4 separate regions of the Homo sapiens genome follow, and regions 2, 3 and 4 are each linked to region 1. Evidence: promoter capture Hi-C in 16 types of primary human blood cells and fetal thymus (Javierre and others, 2016). All regions are on one chromosome and are shown on one strand. Each heading gives the region's core, a stretch centred on a gene start or on the middle of the fragment in contact. The rest is flanking DNA. Distances are from core to core; before and after follow the strand shown. Region 1 holds the start of TMEM179B (transmembrane protein 179B). Region 2 holds the start of MACROD1 (mono-ADP ribosylhydrolase 1). Region 3 holds the start of COX8A (cytochrome c oxidase subunit 8A). Region 4 holds the start of NAA40 (N-alpha-acetyltransferase 40, NatD catalytic subunit).

The links. Contacts are between HindIII fragments. The CHiCAGO score rates a contact against its expected background, and 5 or more counts as called.
Region 2: the fragment with the promoter of MACROD1 here is called in contact with the fragment with the promoter of TMEM179B in region 1 in 6 of 17 cell types (M2 macrophages, non-activated CD4 T cells, total CD4 T cells and 3 more); the score reaches 15.8 in M2 macrophages.
Region 3: a contact is called between the fragment with the promoter of COX8A here and the fragment with the promoter of TMEM179B in region 1, in 5 of 17 cell types (non-activated CD4 T cells, fetal thymus, megakaryocytes and 2 more). The highest score is 8.1, in non-activated CD4 T cells.
Region 4: a contact is called between the fragment with the promoter of NAA40 here and the fragment with the promoter of TMEM179B in region 1, in 13 of 17 cell types (erythroblasts, naive CD8 T cells, fetal thymus and 10 more). The highest score is 17.6, in erythroblasts.

Annotation. Positions count from the first base shown.
Region 1 is chr11:62,785,672-62,789,265 of GRCh38, forward strand. TMEM179B (transmembrane protein 179B) reads left to right here and starts at 1,731. Exons shown (of 5, transcript NM_199337.3): 1 at 1,731-1,856; 2 at 3,352-3,539. The coding sequence starts at 1,761. TAF6L (TATA-box binding protein associated factor 6 like) reads left to right here. Exons shown (of 11, transcript NM_006473.4): 10 at 589-717; 11 at 846-1,671. The coding sequence ends at 1,625. It also overlaps a transcript of TMEM223 not described here. RefSeq lists an enhancer at 802-1,001 and a silencer at 1,252-1,361. The HindIII fragment of the contact is 7,473 bases long and covers 1-3,594 here.
Region 2 is chr11:64,164,217-64,167,810 of GRCh38, forward strand. MACROD1 (mono-ADP ribosylhydrolase 1) reads right to left here and starts at 1,897. Exons shown (of 11, transcript NM_014067.4): 1 at 1,481-1,897. The coding sequence starts at 1,778. It overlaps LOC105369339 (a long non-coding RNA gene), which reads left to right and starts at 2,022. Exons shown (of 3, transcript XR_950187.3): 1 at 2,022-2,373. RefSeq lists an enhancer at 1,416-1,916 and silencers at 1,454-1,553, 1,684-1,763, 2,024-2,283. The HindIII fragment of the contact is 18,296 bases long and covers 1-3,594 here.
Region 3 is chr11:63,972,752-63,976,345 of GRCh38, forward strand. COX8A (cytochrome c oxidase subunit 8A) reads left to right here and starts at 1,869. Exons shown (of 2, transcript NM_004074.3): 1 at 1,869-2,043; 2 at 3,474-3,594. The coding sequence starts at 1,930. The coding sequence ends at 3,569. RefSeq lists an enhancer at 1,783-2,222. The HindIII fragment of the contact is 5,471 bases long and covers 1-2,029 here.
Region 4 is chr11:63,937,396-63,940,989 of GRCh38, forward strand. It overlaps NAA40 (N-alpha-acetyltransferase 40, NatD catalytic subunit), which reads left to right and starts at 1,607. Exons shown (of 8, transcript NM_024771.4): 1 at 1,607-1,707. The coding sequence starts at 1,702. RefSeq lists enhancers at 610-1,110, 1,349-1,488 and silencers at 1,209-1,258, 1,519-1,598, 1,528-1,713. The HindIII fragment of the contact is 5,806 bases long and covers 647-3,594 here.

The DNA of each region.
Region 1 (3,594 bases), core at 481-2,980:
TTACAGGCAACTGCTACTGCGCCCAGCTAATTTTTGTATTTTTAGTAGAGATGGGGTTTCACCATCTTGGCCAAGCTGGTCTTGAACTCCTGACCTCAGGTGATCCACTGGCCTCGGCCTCCCAAAGTGCTGGGATTACAGGCGTGAGCCACAGCGCCTGTCCAATCACAGGATTTTAAATTGTATAATCAGAGTCCAAGTCTCTGGTTGGTTGTTTTTATGCAGATTGTTTGAACTGAGTCTCAGTTTACATCTAAGTGAAGCCAGTACTTGCCTGATTGTATAGGGTAGCAGTATGCAAACTAAATTTTGGAGTTGTCAGTAATGAGCATTATTTAGCACACAGGGCAGTGATATTGGGTATATTTTTTATTGTCTCCCTTTGTACCTTATCTTTATTCCCAATGCCTAGCTTAGGTATACAGTAGGTTCCAAATAAATATATGGTTGAATATGCCAATCAGGGAATTTAGGAGGATTGAGCCCTGTCTAGGATCAGAGATAAAGGTAGGTCTTTCATGGGAAAGGGTCCTTGAGAGGGAATAAGTATCAAAGACATGCTAACTGTATTCCTTCTCTTCCTTCCAGGCAGTAGAACGAGTCCTGTACCCACACCTGTCCACCTACTGGACAAACTTGCAGGCTGTGCTGGATGATTATTCAGTATCTAATGCCCAGGTCAAAGCAGATGGACACAAAGTCTATGGAGCCATTCTGGTGAGTACCGTCCCCTTCCAGCCTCCCTTCCCTGCATGAGCTTAGCAGCCAAGCAGGCTTACTTTGGAATATTTGATGGGCCCAGGTTCCTCGAATTTTTTGCCTATCTTAGTCCTTGGCTCTTACAGGTGGCGGTAGAGCGACTGCTGAAGATGAAGGCCCAGGCAGCAGAGCCCAACAGGGGTGGCCCAGGTGGCAGGGGGTGCCGGCGCCTGGACGACCTGCCATGGGACAGCCTTCTCTTTCAAGAGTCGTCCTCCGGGGGCGGTGCAGAACCCAGCTTTGGGTCCGGCCTCCCGCTGCCGCCAGGGGGCGCGGGGCCGGAGGACCCTTCTCTTTCGGTGACCCTGGCCGACATCTACCGGGAGCTCTACGCCTTCTTCGGTGACAGCTTGGCCACACGCTTTGGCACCGGCCAGCCTGCACCCACGGCTCCGCGGCCGCCCGGGGACAAGAAGGAGCCGGCGGCAGCCCCGGACTCGGTGCGGAAGATGCCGCAGCTGACGGCAAGCGCCATAGTCAGCCCGCACGGCGACGAGAGCCCCCGGGGCAGCGGCGGAGGCGGCCCCGCGTCGGCCTCTGGGCCCGCCGCCTCTGAGAGCAGGCCCTTGCCGCGCGTGCATCGGGCGCGCGGGGCACCCCGGCAGCAGGGCCCCGGGACCGGCACCCGCGACGTTTTCCAGAAGAGCCGTTTCGCCCCGCGCGGCGCCCCGCACTTTCGTTTCATCATAGCCGGGCGGCAGGCTGGGAGGCGCTGCCGCGGGCGCCTTTTCCAGACTGCCTTCCCCGCGCCGTACGGGCCTAGCCCGGCCTCGCGCTACGTGCAGAAACTGCCCATGATCGGCCGTACCAGCCGCCCCGCCCGCCGGTGGGCGCTCTCGGACTACTCGCTGTACTTGCCGCTCTGAGTCAGTGGCCCCTTCGTTCCTTGTAAATAAATCCCGCCCCCGGAAATGACGTCTCCACCTTCGTGGGTCGCGCCGGATAAGGTGGGCTTTGGGCGGGGTGCTGCTGCAGCGGCGCTTCCTGGTGGTCAGGGCGCCATGGCGCTGTCCTGGCTGCAGCGCGTCGAGCTTGCGCTCTTTGCTGCCGCCTTCCTGTGCGGGGCCGTGGCGGCCGCGGCGATGACTCGGACCCAGGTGCGGCTGCGGGGCGGGGTCAGGTAGGCGGGGGAGCTGGCCGGTCTGGACATGGCGAGGCCACTTTCGCTTTCCGACCGGGCTTGCTGCTGCTCGGAGCCGGTGGACCTGGTGAGGCACGGCTGGCGCCGGCCTGTACCTGAAATGCAGCGAGGCTAATCGCGCTTTGTGGCTCCTCCTGGCCAGGTCATACTTCGAAGTTGTCCCCTCGCCAAAGGGACGGGTCAGTAGCGTCTTAAAGCACTAGGTGGAGTCGGGTTTCGTGGCTCCTGCTGCACAGCCTTACTGTGGTTCCGAAACAGAAGTCAGTGCAGAACCTGCGTCCATCCGTTAAATCAGAAGCCATTTGTGCTGAGCTTTGTCGAGAAATAAAGCATAGTGTAGTGGAGATGATCAAGCTGCCACATGATTGTAGCACAGTGTGTTAAATGACAAAATGAGAGATGGAGAAAACGCTGACGTAAAGGTAGAAGCCAATAATTTACATCGTTTACCCCAGCCAGGTAATCTGGTTAATAAACATGGGTTCATTTAATGCCTATAAAGTAGGCACTAGTGTGCCTATTTTACACCATGAGAAAACCTCAGAGATCCGCCGGGCGCGGTGACTCACGCCTGTAATCCCAGCACTTTGGGAGGCTGAGGCAGGCGGATCACTTGAGGTCAGGAGTTCGAGACCAGCCTGGCCAACATGGCAAAACTCTGTCTCTACTAAAAATACAAAAATTAGCCGGGTGTGGTGGCTCATGCCTGTAATCCCAGCTACTTCGGAGGCTGAGGCAGGAGAATCGCTTGAACCTGGGAGGCGGAGGTTGCAGTGAGTCGAGATCGTGCCATTGCACTCCAGCCTGGGTGACGAGCGAATCTCCATCGCAAAAACAAAAACAAAAACACTGGCCGGGCCTGGTGGCTCACGCCTGTAATCCCAGCACTTTGGGAGGCCGTGGCAGGCGGATCACGAGGTCAGGAGATCAAGACCATCCTGGCCAACACGGTGAAACCCTGTCTCTACTAAAAATACAAACAATTAGCCAGGCATGGTGGCGGGTGCCTGTAGTCCCAGCTACTCAGGAGGCTGAGGCAGGAGAATGGCATGAACCCAGAAGGCAGAGCGTGCAGTGAGCCGAGATGGCGCCACTGCACTCCAGCAAAAAAAAAAAAAAAAAGCACCTCACAGATAGTTATTTGTTGAAGGATATACAAGGCCTGGGTTTACTCTAAGGTTTCTGCACAGAGACCATAACTTGTGAGGCTTCTCTGAAGCTCATTGCATTCTATATTCATTGCCTATTTTCTGATCCTTCTGGCCACTGCCGGTGTGATTCCCCAGCAGGCCCTCTCCATCAATATCCCTGTCCCAGAAATAGGAATTGACGGTGCACAAATAACTTCCTGGAATGCAGGACCATTCCTAAGTTATCACTAACACCCTACCAAGAGACTGTATCTAGAGACATTAACCTGAAATCTAGGACTCAGCAGCTTCTCTCCACAGGGCTCCTTCAGTGGTAGATGTCCCCTGTATGGTGTGGCCACCCTGAATGGCTCCTCCCTGGCCTTATCCCGTCCCTCAGCACCATCCCTGTGCTACTTTGTAGCTGGGGCCTCTGGCCTCTTGGCCCTCTACTGCCTCCTGCTTTTGCTCTTCTGGATCTACAGCAGCTGCATCGAGGACTCCCACAGGTGACTGCCTAACCCTGAGGGCCAGGGGCTGAGGTAGGATGAGCCTCACCTCCAC
Region 2 (3,594 bases), core at 647-3,146, 1.4 Mb after region 1:
AGTTTGCTGCATGATTGGAAATCCCACCTCGAAGCAAAAGGGAGACCCCAGTGACAACACAGCAGCCCAGGAACCCCAGCCCCATCACAAGGTCCGGTTGCTTTCCTGGCACCAAGGAGTGGGGCTGTGGGGGCTGGATCCTAAAAACAGCGGCAGCCCTCGAGCAGGTGCCTGGGCACCTTGTCTCCGTAGCTCTTTCCCACCCTCCTGGGTTGTTGTCCTCTGAGAGAGTGCTCAGGGGAGCAGGGGTCTCTGTGGGGACAGTGGCTCCCCCTCCAGGGGTCTCTGCCAGCCCCAAACTCCTCCTGCTGTTCTGGGGCAAGGGCCAAGTGCCTGACAAGTTCTCCATCTGCTCACGGGCTAAAGTCGGTGCTTTCTGCCGTCACTTTTAGATCCTGGCGCAGGCCACACAATTCATGTCAGGAGTAAATCATTTTGATTTCCACCTCTGGTCCCGAGAAAGCCATCTTCTCTTCACCCCTAACACCGCAGGACCCCCCCATCCTGCCTGCCCAGCCCAGAGGCCACACCTACTCCACCACGGAGGCCCAGCCAATTAGCCACTTCCCTGCACTTTTGAAAGGGGATCCAGCCGGGAAGAGTCACAGGATCCCAGGAGGCAGGCCCTGAAAGGCAGGGGCAGCTGGGTGCCCGGCAGGGCTATTTGGGGCTCAGTAGCGGCAGCTTGGGTTCTCTCTCTCCCCAGGCCCCAGACTCATGCCCCCTCCAGGAGCAAGAGGAAGTGGTGTGATTCTTGAAGGGTGTCATCAGTTGTCACAGGGACAAGACCCCACCTCTGCCCTGCTCCTCTAACCTCTGTTCCTGGCATGAGCAAACTGCTCACAAGTGGCCAGAGGCCAGCGAGAAGGGGAAAAGGGCGCCAGACCACGTGCCCAGGAAGGCATCAGAGTGCGGGCTTGGGGTGGGGTGGAGGCAGGACAGGCCAGCCCAGGAAGGTCACTCTGTGAGGTTACGTGCCCCACCAGGTGGGACGCCAGCCCCGGAGCTGTTCCCTCAGCCCCATTCCCGAACACTTAAGAACCACACTGTGCAAAGTTTGGAGAGTCCGGGATCATAACCTCCACTTTGCCACCAGCTCCGAGTGACCTTGGGGAAGCCAGCTGTGGCACTCGGCCTCAGTTTCCCTCCTGCACAGGGAAGGAAGTTGGTAGGTCCTGCACAATCTCTGGGGTGCCCTGTGACCCATTCCAATGGGGTAAGGAAGGCCGCCTTCCTCACGCTGCCCCCTGCGTGGACACTTGGACCTGGTCTGGAGTGAATTGTTCTGTGGGGCTGGGAACACGCGCGGGGGCGGGGGGGGCTGTCAATGGGGAGGAGGGGTCCGTTCCAGGGCAGATGGGGCCTCAACTTCCCCAGGTCTCTCGGGTGGAAGGGGCTGCTCGCTCGTTGGGGGCCGCCCAGCCGGGAAGCTCCACGTGAGGCCGCCCTCTCCCTCGCGCCCCCTCGTGCTTACACTTACATTTCGCCTCCTTCCAGTCGGTGGAGGTGCTCAGGTCCACCTTCGCCGCCATGGCCAGGGGGGCCCAAGTGCGCACCCCGGCTGTCCGCCCCACCGCCGCCGCCCCCCACGCCCCAACTCCCGCCGAGGTCCGCGCACGGCGGCCGAACACGCCCAGGAACGCCGGGGGACCGCACGTGCTGCTGCGGGTCCTCGTGGCACCCGCCAAGTGTCCGGGCCGGGGGCGCGGGGGGACGAGCAGCTGCCCCGCCGCGCGCAGCTGTGCCAGGCGGCCGGACAGTCGGCTCTGTAGAGACATGAGCGGGCGGCGCGGGACGGCTCTCCGCCCACTTGGACTCTATTTACGGCGCTCGGGAGTGTCTCTCCCTTATTTACTCTGGGACCGGGTGGCGACTGCCAGCCAGCGGCGACCTGCTCGGAGCCAGCGGGAGGCGCGGCCAGAAAACCCGGGAGCGCCGCTGGGCACCCTGGAACTTGTAGTCCGGGCCGCCGGATGGGCCCACGCACTCGTATACACACGTGCGCGCCCGCCCGGGCTCCCAGTGTCGCGGATGGAGCCCCGCCTGAGCCCTTCGACTTCTCCCGTGGCCGCCAGGCGCCTCCCCTCCGCGAGACCTCGGCCGCCTCTAACTTTCTGGTTGGCTGAGCGTCGGCTTCCCCGGCACGGGCTGAAGCCCCCGGGCCTTCCACGCAGCCCCGGGCCCCTCTGCCGCTCGGCCCCGCGGCGGAGCAGGCGCGCCGGCCGCTGCGTATCGAGCTGGGAGAGCCTGGCGCGGCTTCCGCAGTGCCGAGCGTTTTGCAGCCTGGGAGACCCGGGCTTCTCTCCCCGCGGGTCAGCAGGGCACCGCCTCCACACCCCAGCCTGCCCTCCTAGGGACAGGTGCGACGAACGGGTAAATCCGGTTTGGGGACTTCTCCCCAGAGCCTCTGCCTTCTAACAGCCCCGGGGCCAAGGCTCAGCTGGAGCAGAATCTAGGACAGCTGGGGAGGAGAGTCGAGGGTGGAAATAGTGGAATTTGGAGGCAGGAAACTTAGGCTTCAAGTGGCGTTCAAGGGTGGAAGGATTGGGGTGATGTTTTTGTGTGTGTCTGTGTGTTTTTTTTTTTTTTTCTTTTCTTTTTTAAACAAAAACCGGCCGGGCGCGGTGGCTCACGCCTGTAATCCCAGCACTTTGGTAGGCCGAGTTGGGTGGATCACGAGGTCAGGAGTTCGAGGCCTGCCTGGCCAACATGGCGAAACCCCGTCTCTACTAAAAATACAAAAATTATGCAGGCGTGGTGGTGCATGCCTGTTAATTACAGCTACTCGGGAGGCTGAGGCAGGAGAATCACTTGAACCCGGAAGGCGGAGGTTGCGGTGAGCCGAGATCGTGCCATTGCACTCCAGCCTGGGTGACAGAACGAGACTCTGTCTCAAAGAAAACAAAACAAAAAACACGAGGATGGATTTTTAAGTACTTTTATATATTTTTATGTACTATTAATATTACTTTATGATAAATATAATGAATACAGGCCGGGCCATTATAATAATATAATGAATGTAATAATGAATAATGAATAAGTGCTCACACCTGTAATCCCAGCACTTTGGGAGGCTGAGGCAAGAGGATTATTAGAGGCCAGGAGTTCAAGACCAGCCTGGGCAATATAGTGAGACCCCCTCATCTCTACCCGCCCCCACACAAAAAAATTACCCTGGTATGGTGGTAGACACTCACCTCTAGTCCCAGCTACTCCAGAGGCTGAGGCAGGCAAACACTTGAGCCCAAGGGTTCAAGGCTACAGAGAGCCATGATGGCACCACTGCACTACAGCCTGGACGACACAGTGAGACCCTATCTCAAAAGTAATAATAATAATGAATATATTTTAATACGAGGGAGGAACGAGCCAGGGTTTCAGAGAAGGTTCTAGTACTAGTGTTGCTGCCCTAGGGTACCCTAGCCCCTTAAGACTCAAACTTCTTGAGCTGTCAGCTAGGAATAAGAGAGTCTGGCTGGTTGCAAACCTGCTCCTGTGCTCCAGGCCTCTGACTCTGAGTGTGGCAATAACCATGGATGGCCGTACGAGGATCCCTGACCTGCCATGGATGCAGATGGAACCACTGGGATG
Region 3 (3,594 bases), core at 619-3,118, 1.2 Mb after region 1:
AGGCTGAGGCAGGAGAATTGCTTGAACCCGGGAGGCGGAGGTTGCAGAGAGCCAAGATAGTGCCACTGCACTCCAGCCTGGGCAACAGCGCAAGACTCTATTTCAAAAAAAAAAAAAAAAAAAAAAAGCCAGGCATGGTGGTGGGCACCTGTAATCCCAGCTACTTGGGAGGCTGAGGTGGGAGGTTGGCTTGAGTCTGGGAGGTGGAGGTTGCAAGGCTGCAGTGAGCCGAGATCACACCACACTCCACTCCAGCCTGGGCTTAGAGCTAGACCTTGTCTCAACATCAATAACAAAATGCAGAGTGCATTTTGAATGCAACAAAAGGCTTGTTGGTGGAAATCAGAGAGCAGGGTCGAAGGTGTGGAATATTGAAGAGTTTTGAGAGTTGAGGCTGGACAGTGACATCCGGGAATTGGGATTTTGACTAGGAAGCAATGGGGAGCCACTGAAAGTATATGACTTGGTCAGATTTAGGTTTAAAAAACCAAGAAGGAAGGGATGGGGGAGGGAGAGAGAGTGATAGGGTAGGAAGGAAGGGAAGTTGGCTGCTCCAGCATGGTAACTGGAATTGAAGAGTGTAATAGTAATTGAGGGAGGTTTGGTTACTAGGTCAGTGTCAGGAATTCTCAACAAAAACGACGGAGGCCTGGTGGAGAGGAGGGGACTCTCAATAGAGAGATTTTTTTTTTTTTTTTTTTTTGAGACGGAGTCTTGCTGTGTCGCCCAGGCTGGAGTGCAGTGGCGTGATCTCAGCTCACTGCAACCTCTGCCTACCGGGTTCAAGCAGTTCTCCTGCCTCAGCCTCCCTAGTAGCTGAGATTACAGGCATCTACCACCATGCCTGGCTATTTTTTGTATTCTTAGTCGAGATGGAGTCTCACCATGTTGGCCAGGCTGCTTTCGAACTTTTTTTATTGTTGTTTTTTATTTTTGAGATGGAGTTTCGCTCTTGTGGCCCAGTCTGGACTGCAATGGCTCAATCTCGGCTCACTGCAACTTCCGTCTCCTGGGTTCAGCAATTCTCCTGACTCAGCCTCCCGAGTAGCTGGAATTACAGGCGCCCACCACCATGCCCAGCTAATTTTTGTATTTTTAGTAGAGACGGGGTTTCACCATGTTGGCCAGTCTGGTCTCGAACTGTTGACCTCAGGTGATCCACCCGCCTCGGCCTCCCAAAATGTTGGGATTACAAGCGTGAGCCACTGCGCCCGGCCAATTTTTGTATTTTTCGTAGAGATGGGGTTTCACCATGCTGGCAAGACTGGTCTCAAACTCCTGACCTCAGATGATCTACCGGCCCCGGCCTCCCAAAGTGTTGGGATTACATGCGTGAGCCACTGCGCCCGGCCAATTTTTGTATTTTTCGTAGAGATGGGGTTTCACCATGCTGGCAAGACTGGTGTCAAACTCCTGACCTCAGATGATCTACCCGCCCCGGCCTCCCAAAGTGCTGGGATTAGAGGCGTGAGCCAACGCGCCCAGCCCGTACTTTTTTTTTTTTAGTACAGACGGCCTCCCAAAAGTTCTGAGATTACGGGCGTGAGCCACCACGCCCAGCCTGAATAGAGAGAGATTTAACAGTATGAATGAAGGGAGGAGTCAAGAACAGTTTAGGCTTCTCGCGTACATGATTGGGTGGCCCCAGATGTCATTCACAAGTATAAGCCTTGGAGGCGGAACATAACTCGAAGAAGAGCCCTTTTGTGCTCCGCCCATAGCGTAGGAAGGTGTCAATTGGCTGTTTCGAGGAACGCGCCAAAAACTGCCAAGGGCTGTGGGAGGTGTGTTCTTGCGTCATTTCCGAGAGACTTCCGCGCCGCAGTTTCCCTGCTTCCCCAGCTCCAGAACTTCCGGCCAGCGCAGCCATTTTGGCTTCCTGACCTTGGGCTACGGCTGACCGTTTTTTGTGGTGTACTCCGTGCCATCATGTCCGTCCTGACGCCGCTGCTGCTGCGGGGCTTGACAGGCTCGGCCCGGCGGCTCCCAGTGCCGCGCGCCAAGATCCATTCGTTGCCGCCGGAGGGGAAGCTTGGGATCATGGTGAGGAACGGGCCTGGAAGAGCGCGGGAGGCGCCGTGGGCTGACCCCTTCTGCCTAGCTGACCTCAGGTGGTCCTGAGAATGCCTCGCGCCCCGCAGCGTAGCGGGGAGCAGCAGTGCCGGTTTGGGCATGTCTGGAGGGCGCGAACGACGGGGACAGTGCCCGGGCGACAGTCGGGGCTGTCGGCGTTAGGTCTTTCCCCACAGCCCCAGGATCTCGGGTCTGGTCCTGTCAGGCCCTCCCTCTCCTGTCGCCTCCTCGCTGCGCCGCCTCCTGCCGACTTCTTTAGCCGCTCTGAGCCCATTTTCTCGTTGGTTCACTGGGGGATGCCTGACGCTGTCAGCGACGAAAATGGTTGTTACTGCTATTTATTTTATTTTATTTTATTTTACTTATTTATTTTGAGACGGGTTCTCGCTCTGTCGCCAGGCTGGAGTGCAGTGGCGCGATCTCGGCTCACTGCAGCCTCCGACTCCCGGGTTCAAGCGATTCTCCTGCCTCAGCCTCCCGAATAGCTGGGACTACAGGCGCGTGCCACCATGCCCAACTAAATTTTGTATTTTTAGTAGAGACGGGGTTTCACCATGTTGGCCAGGATGGTCTCGATCTCTTGACCTCGTGATCCGCCTGCCTCAACCTCCCAAAGTGCTGGGATTACAGGCGTGAGCCACTGCGCCCGGCCTGGGAGGGGGTTTTCAGGCAAGGAAGGATAGGTATCGTTTTGGAGTTACTGGCCCATGCAAGGATCCTGGGTCTTAACATACAGGCTTTGCTTTTTTTGTTTGTTGTTTGTTTTTTTGAGACGGAGTCTTGCTCTGTCACCCAGGCTGGAGTGCAGTGGTGCGATCTCGGCTTACTGCAACCTCCGCCTCCCAGGTTTAAGCCAAGCCATTCTCCTGCCTCAGTCTCCCGAGTAGCTGGGATCACAGGCGCCCGCCACCACTCCCGGCTAATTTTTTGTATTTTTAGTAGAGACGGGGTTTCACCATGTTGGTCAGGCTGGTCTCTAACTCCTGACCTTGTGATCCGCCCGCCTTGGCCTCCCAAATTGCTGGGATTACAGGTGTGAGCCACCATGCCCGGCCCAGACCAGCTTTAAAACAGGTTTCAATAAATCCTGCTTCCTGTCCCTTCCTTTACCATCTGGTGGTGCATTTCTCCCTGAACCCTAACCCCAGCTGTCTCTCCTTCCTCTCACTCTTCCCCCTCCTTATAACTGACCCTTTACCTCAAGGGTTAGCGTAGCTTTGGACCTGCTCTGTCTGCTCCGTGGAGCGTGGATTCCTTTAACGTGAGGATGCGGGGCCTCCCACTTGCCTCTGAGTCCTGGCTCCCTGAGCGGGGCTTTCTGCTGCCTGGGAACTGCAAGGACTTAGAGAGCCTAGGGGAATACTGACTCCGAGGTGCCTTCTTTCTTGTGCTCTGTGTAGGAATTGGCCGTTGGGCTTACCTCCTGCTTCGTGACCTTCCTCCTGCCAGCGGGCTGGATCCTGTCACACCTGGAGACCTACAGGAGGCCAGAGTGAAGGGGTCCGTTCTGTCCCTCACACT
Region 4 (3,594 bases), core at 357-2,856, 1.2 Mb after region 1:
GTTTCGCTGTGTTAGCCAGGATGGTCTCGATCTCCTGACCTCGTGATCCGCCCGCCTCTACCTCCCAAAGTGCTGGGATTACAGGCGTGAGCCACCGCGCCCGGCCGAGCCTGTATCATTTAACTAACTATGTATATTACCTATTTATTTCATCTATTATCGGTCTCCTCCTTCTAGGATACAAGGGTGGTGCCTATTCTGTTTCTTATTGTTGTTTTCCTTGCTGCTTGGAACAGTGCCTAGCATACAGTAGGCACTGGATAAATGTTGTTGAGGCCACCACTGTACTGAGCACTAAAGTTGGAATAATGAGGCTAAGCACAGTGGCTGACGCCTGTAATCCTAGCACTTTGGGAGGCCAAAGTGGGAGGATCGCTTGGGCCCAGGAGTTTGGGACCAGTCTGTGTAACACAGTGAGACCCCATCTCAACAAAAAATAAATAAAAATTGAGCTGCGTATGGTAGTGCACACCTGTAGTCCCAGCTACTCAGGAGGCTGAGGCGGGAGGATCGCTTGAGCCCAGGAGGTCGAGGCTGCAGTGAGCTGTGATTGCACCACTGCACTCCAGCCTGGGCGACCGCGAGACCCTGTCTCTTAAAAAAACAAAAAGATGGAATAATGAGCAAAACCTGAAAAAGTCCATGAAGCTTAAGTGTTGGGCAGCATTTCACTAATTTTCGTCTTGAAGCATTTCACTAATTTTCGCTCCCTACCTGGGGAGCACTAGGAAGTGAAGACTCTGGCTCCACCCCTGGAGATTCTGGGGGAGGTTGGCAGAGGTGTGCACACTGCGGAAGCGCCCCCGGCGGTTTGGATTCGGGTCACGTGCGGGTCACTCCGGTGTGCTGGGGATGGGTTGAAATTAAAACTTTCCGGGATGCCTGGTGTTCACGCTAACAGCACTGTCCACTCTCTCCTAAACAGTGCTTACGTGCCCGTCTCCCCTCTAAACCCTGAGGTGTGGCGCTGAGATGGCACCTCGCTCCTCTCTGTGCCCCCTGGGCTCAGCACCGCGTAGATGCGAGTTAATTTTTATTGAGAACGTGAATGAATGAGGGGGAATGAATGGTTAGAAGACGAATGAATGAGTAACAGGACTCTGGTTAGAAAAGGAATTTCAAGAGTCAAGATCTGGAAGGTGGGAAAGTTTCCAAAGACTTCCGCTACGCGCGCTAGGGCTCTGGAGGGGCAGGTACTTTAGAGGTCGAGACGCGATTGGCCGCCTGGGAAGGTGGCTGTGCCGCCGGCTGCTACGCGCGGGGCCAAGGAGTCGCTGGCCGCAGGGGAGGTGCTGCCAACCACCCGGCCCCCAGCGGCGCGCGACTCACGGCCTGGGTGAGCAGCCAGGCCTGGCGCCGCCGTTGCCATAGTTACAGACGCAGCCCTGCGAGGGGGCGGGCTCTGGCCGCACGTCATTCCCGGCGCGACGCTCCTCCGCGCTCCCGCCTCCTCCTGGTCGGAGACCCTCGGCCAGCCTAGCGGGCGCTCCACCTGCGCGCCGGCTCACCGCTGCCCTGCGCCGGTTCTGCGCCGGCGCGGTACGAGGGCGCGCGGTTGGGCGGGGGGGGGGGGGGAAGCTGCGAGGCGCATGCGCGTTGCAGGGCCGTCCGCTCTGCTGCCGCCGCTGTTGCAGCCACCGCCGTTGCCGCCTCCCTGCCGGCAAGTGTGTGAAGAAGAAGCTGAGCGTTGTCGCCGCCGCTATGGGGGTGAGTGAGGCAGAGAGAGGAGATGGGAGGTCCAGGGGCGCTCCTCGCTACCCTCGCCCCCTTTGTTCTTAAACCCCCCTCTCACGTGACCCCGACCCCCTCCAGCCTCACGTGACCCCTGACCCCCACATGACCCGACTCCCCCATTCTAAGGGTCCCTACGCTAGGCCTAGCCCGGGAATCCTCTGGAGAGCCCCTGGTCCGGGGCCCCACCCCCTCGGCGCCCCCAGCGTCACGCCCGCCCCTTCCTGCTTCGCGGACCCGTTACTGGCCTCCCCACCACCGTCCCCCGCGGGGACCCTGGGGTTAGCTTCCCGCTCCCCCAGGGTCACTCATCACCTGGCTGTCACCAGCTTCGTCGCTTTTCACATCCGAGGTCAACCCTGGCTTGGAGGGAATTGAGGCCCAGAGGAAAGAAGGCGCCTAGCCAAGGTCATATTGTCGGGGGCGTCAGACCCCACCTTGGGCCTCCCGAATCCCAGTCCACTGCCCTTCCCGTTACTCGAGTCTCAGCGAAGCCGGTTCCCCTACACTCTTTCGAAACCTCTCCACCAGGTTCCTGCTGCTCCTGATAAACACAGCCTTCCTTTCCCATAGACTCCTGCCTTCGACGCCTCCTGGTTGCAATGAAATGGTTCTTACGACCGCTTGGGTTGTTAGGGGTTTTGGTAGTGCAGGTGTTTTTTGCAAGGGGAGGGCTGTGCAGGTGTGCGGGGAAGATGCGGGGAGGCGGGGGCGGCGGCCCAGCCGCGGATGGATATTGACCACTTGTTCCGTGCCGGCAGCCTGGAGGTGCATTTTAGTTTACTTTCCCGGGATATAGGGTAGGGCAGAAGTTATTTGCAAGTTTCTGTGCGTTCACCTTACTAAGTCTCAATTACAGCAGTATCAGTCACCCTCCTAAAAAGATAACGCTTTTCCTAGTATTGGCTGTATTCTTTTTTTTTTTTTTTTTTTTTTTTTTTGATATGGAGTTTTGCTCTTGTCGCCGAAGCTGGAGTGCAATGGCGCGATCTCGGCTCACTGCATCCTCCTTCTTCTGGGTTCAAGCGGTTCTCCTGCCTCAGCCTCCCCAGCAGCTGGGATTACAGGCGCCCGCTACTATGCCCGGCTCATTTTTGTATTTTTAGTAGAGACAGGGTTTCACCACGTTGGCCAGGCTGGTCTCGAACTCCTGACCTCGTGATTCACCCGCCTAGGCCTCCCAAAGTGCTGGGATTACAGGCGTGAGCCACCACACAGGCCTATATTAGTATTTACATGGAATTTCCATCACCTTAAGGGAACCCTGACTTTGGAGCCCGAGGTACCTCACTTCCAGCCCCGTCTTCGCTGCTGGTGGTATAATAGTGTGCCAGTGAGTTGGCCTTTATGTGTTTGAATTTCCTCACCTCTGTAATTGGGATGCTAATACCTCCCCCTTAGGGTAGTAGTGAAGATTAAGTGAGATAATGGATGTAGATTGCTAAGGAGGTGTCTCCTAAGTAGTGGCTGTTATTTTTGTCTGTATCCTCAGCCTTAACTTTACTGATCTAAAATGGATTTGTGCTATTTTTAACCCATTGGGTTTGTCCCTACTGTTGTTAACCTAGTTTTTTTTTTTCCCGTCACTCCACTATTTATCGACTGAACAAATCAACTTATTAGACAAAAATAGTTGTCTAATCCGTGTCAAAACAGTCATCGTGTTTTAACAAATAGTTTTGGGTATTACGTACTTCATATGTAGAAAACCAAGTCTAGAGACCTTAGGCATATTTAACCTAAATTTTGGTGAAAGGTCCTAGACACAGCCATTGTTGAAACTAAATGAAACCTGTGTCCCTTAGTAACTGTCTAACCAGAAGCAGCCACTGCGGATTAAGCAGAAAACAAGAAGTGTAACAT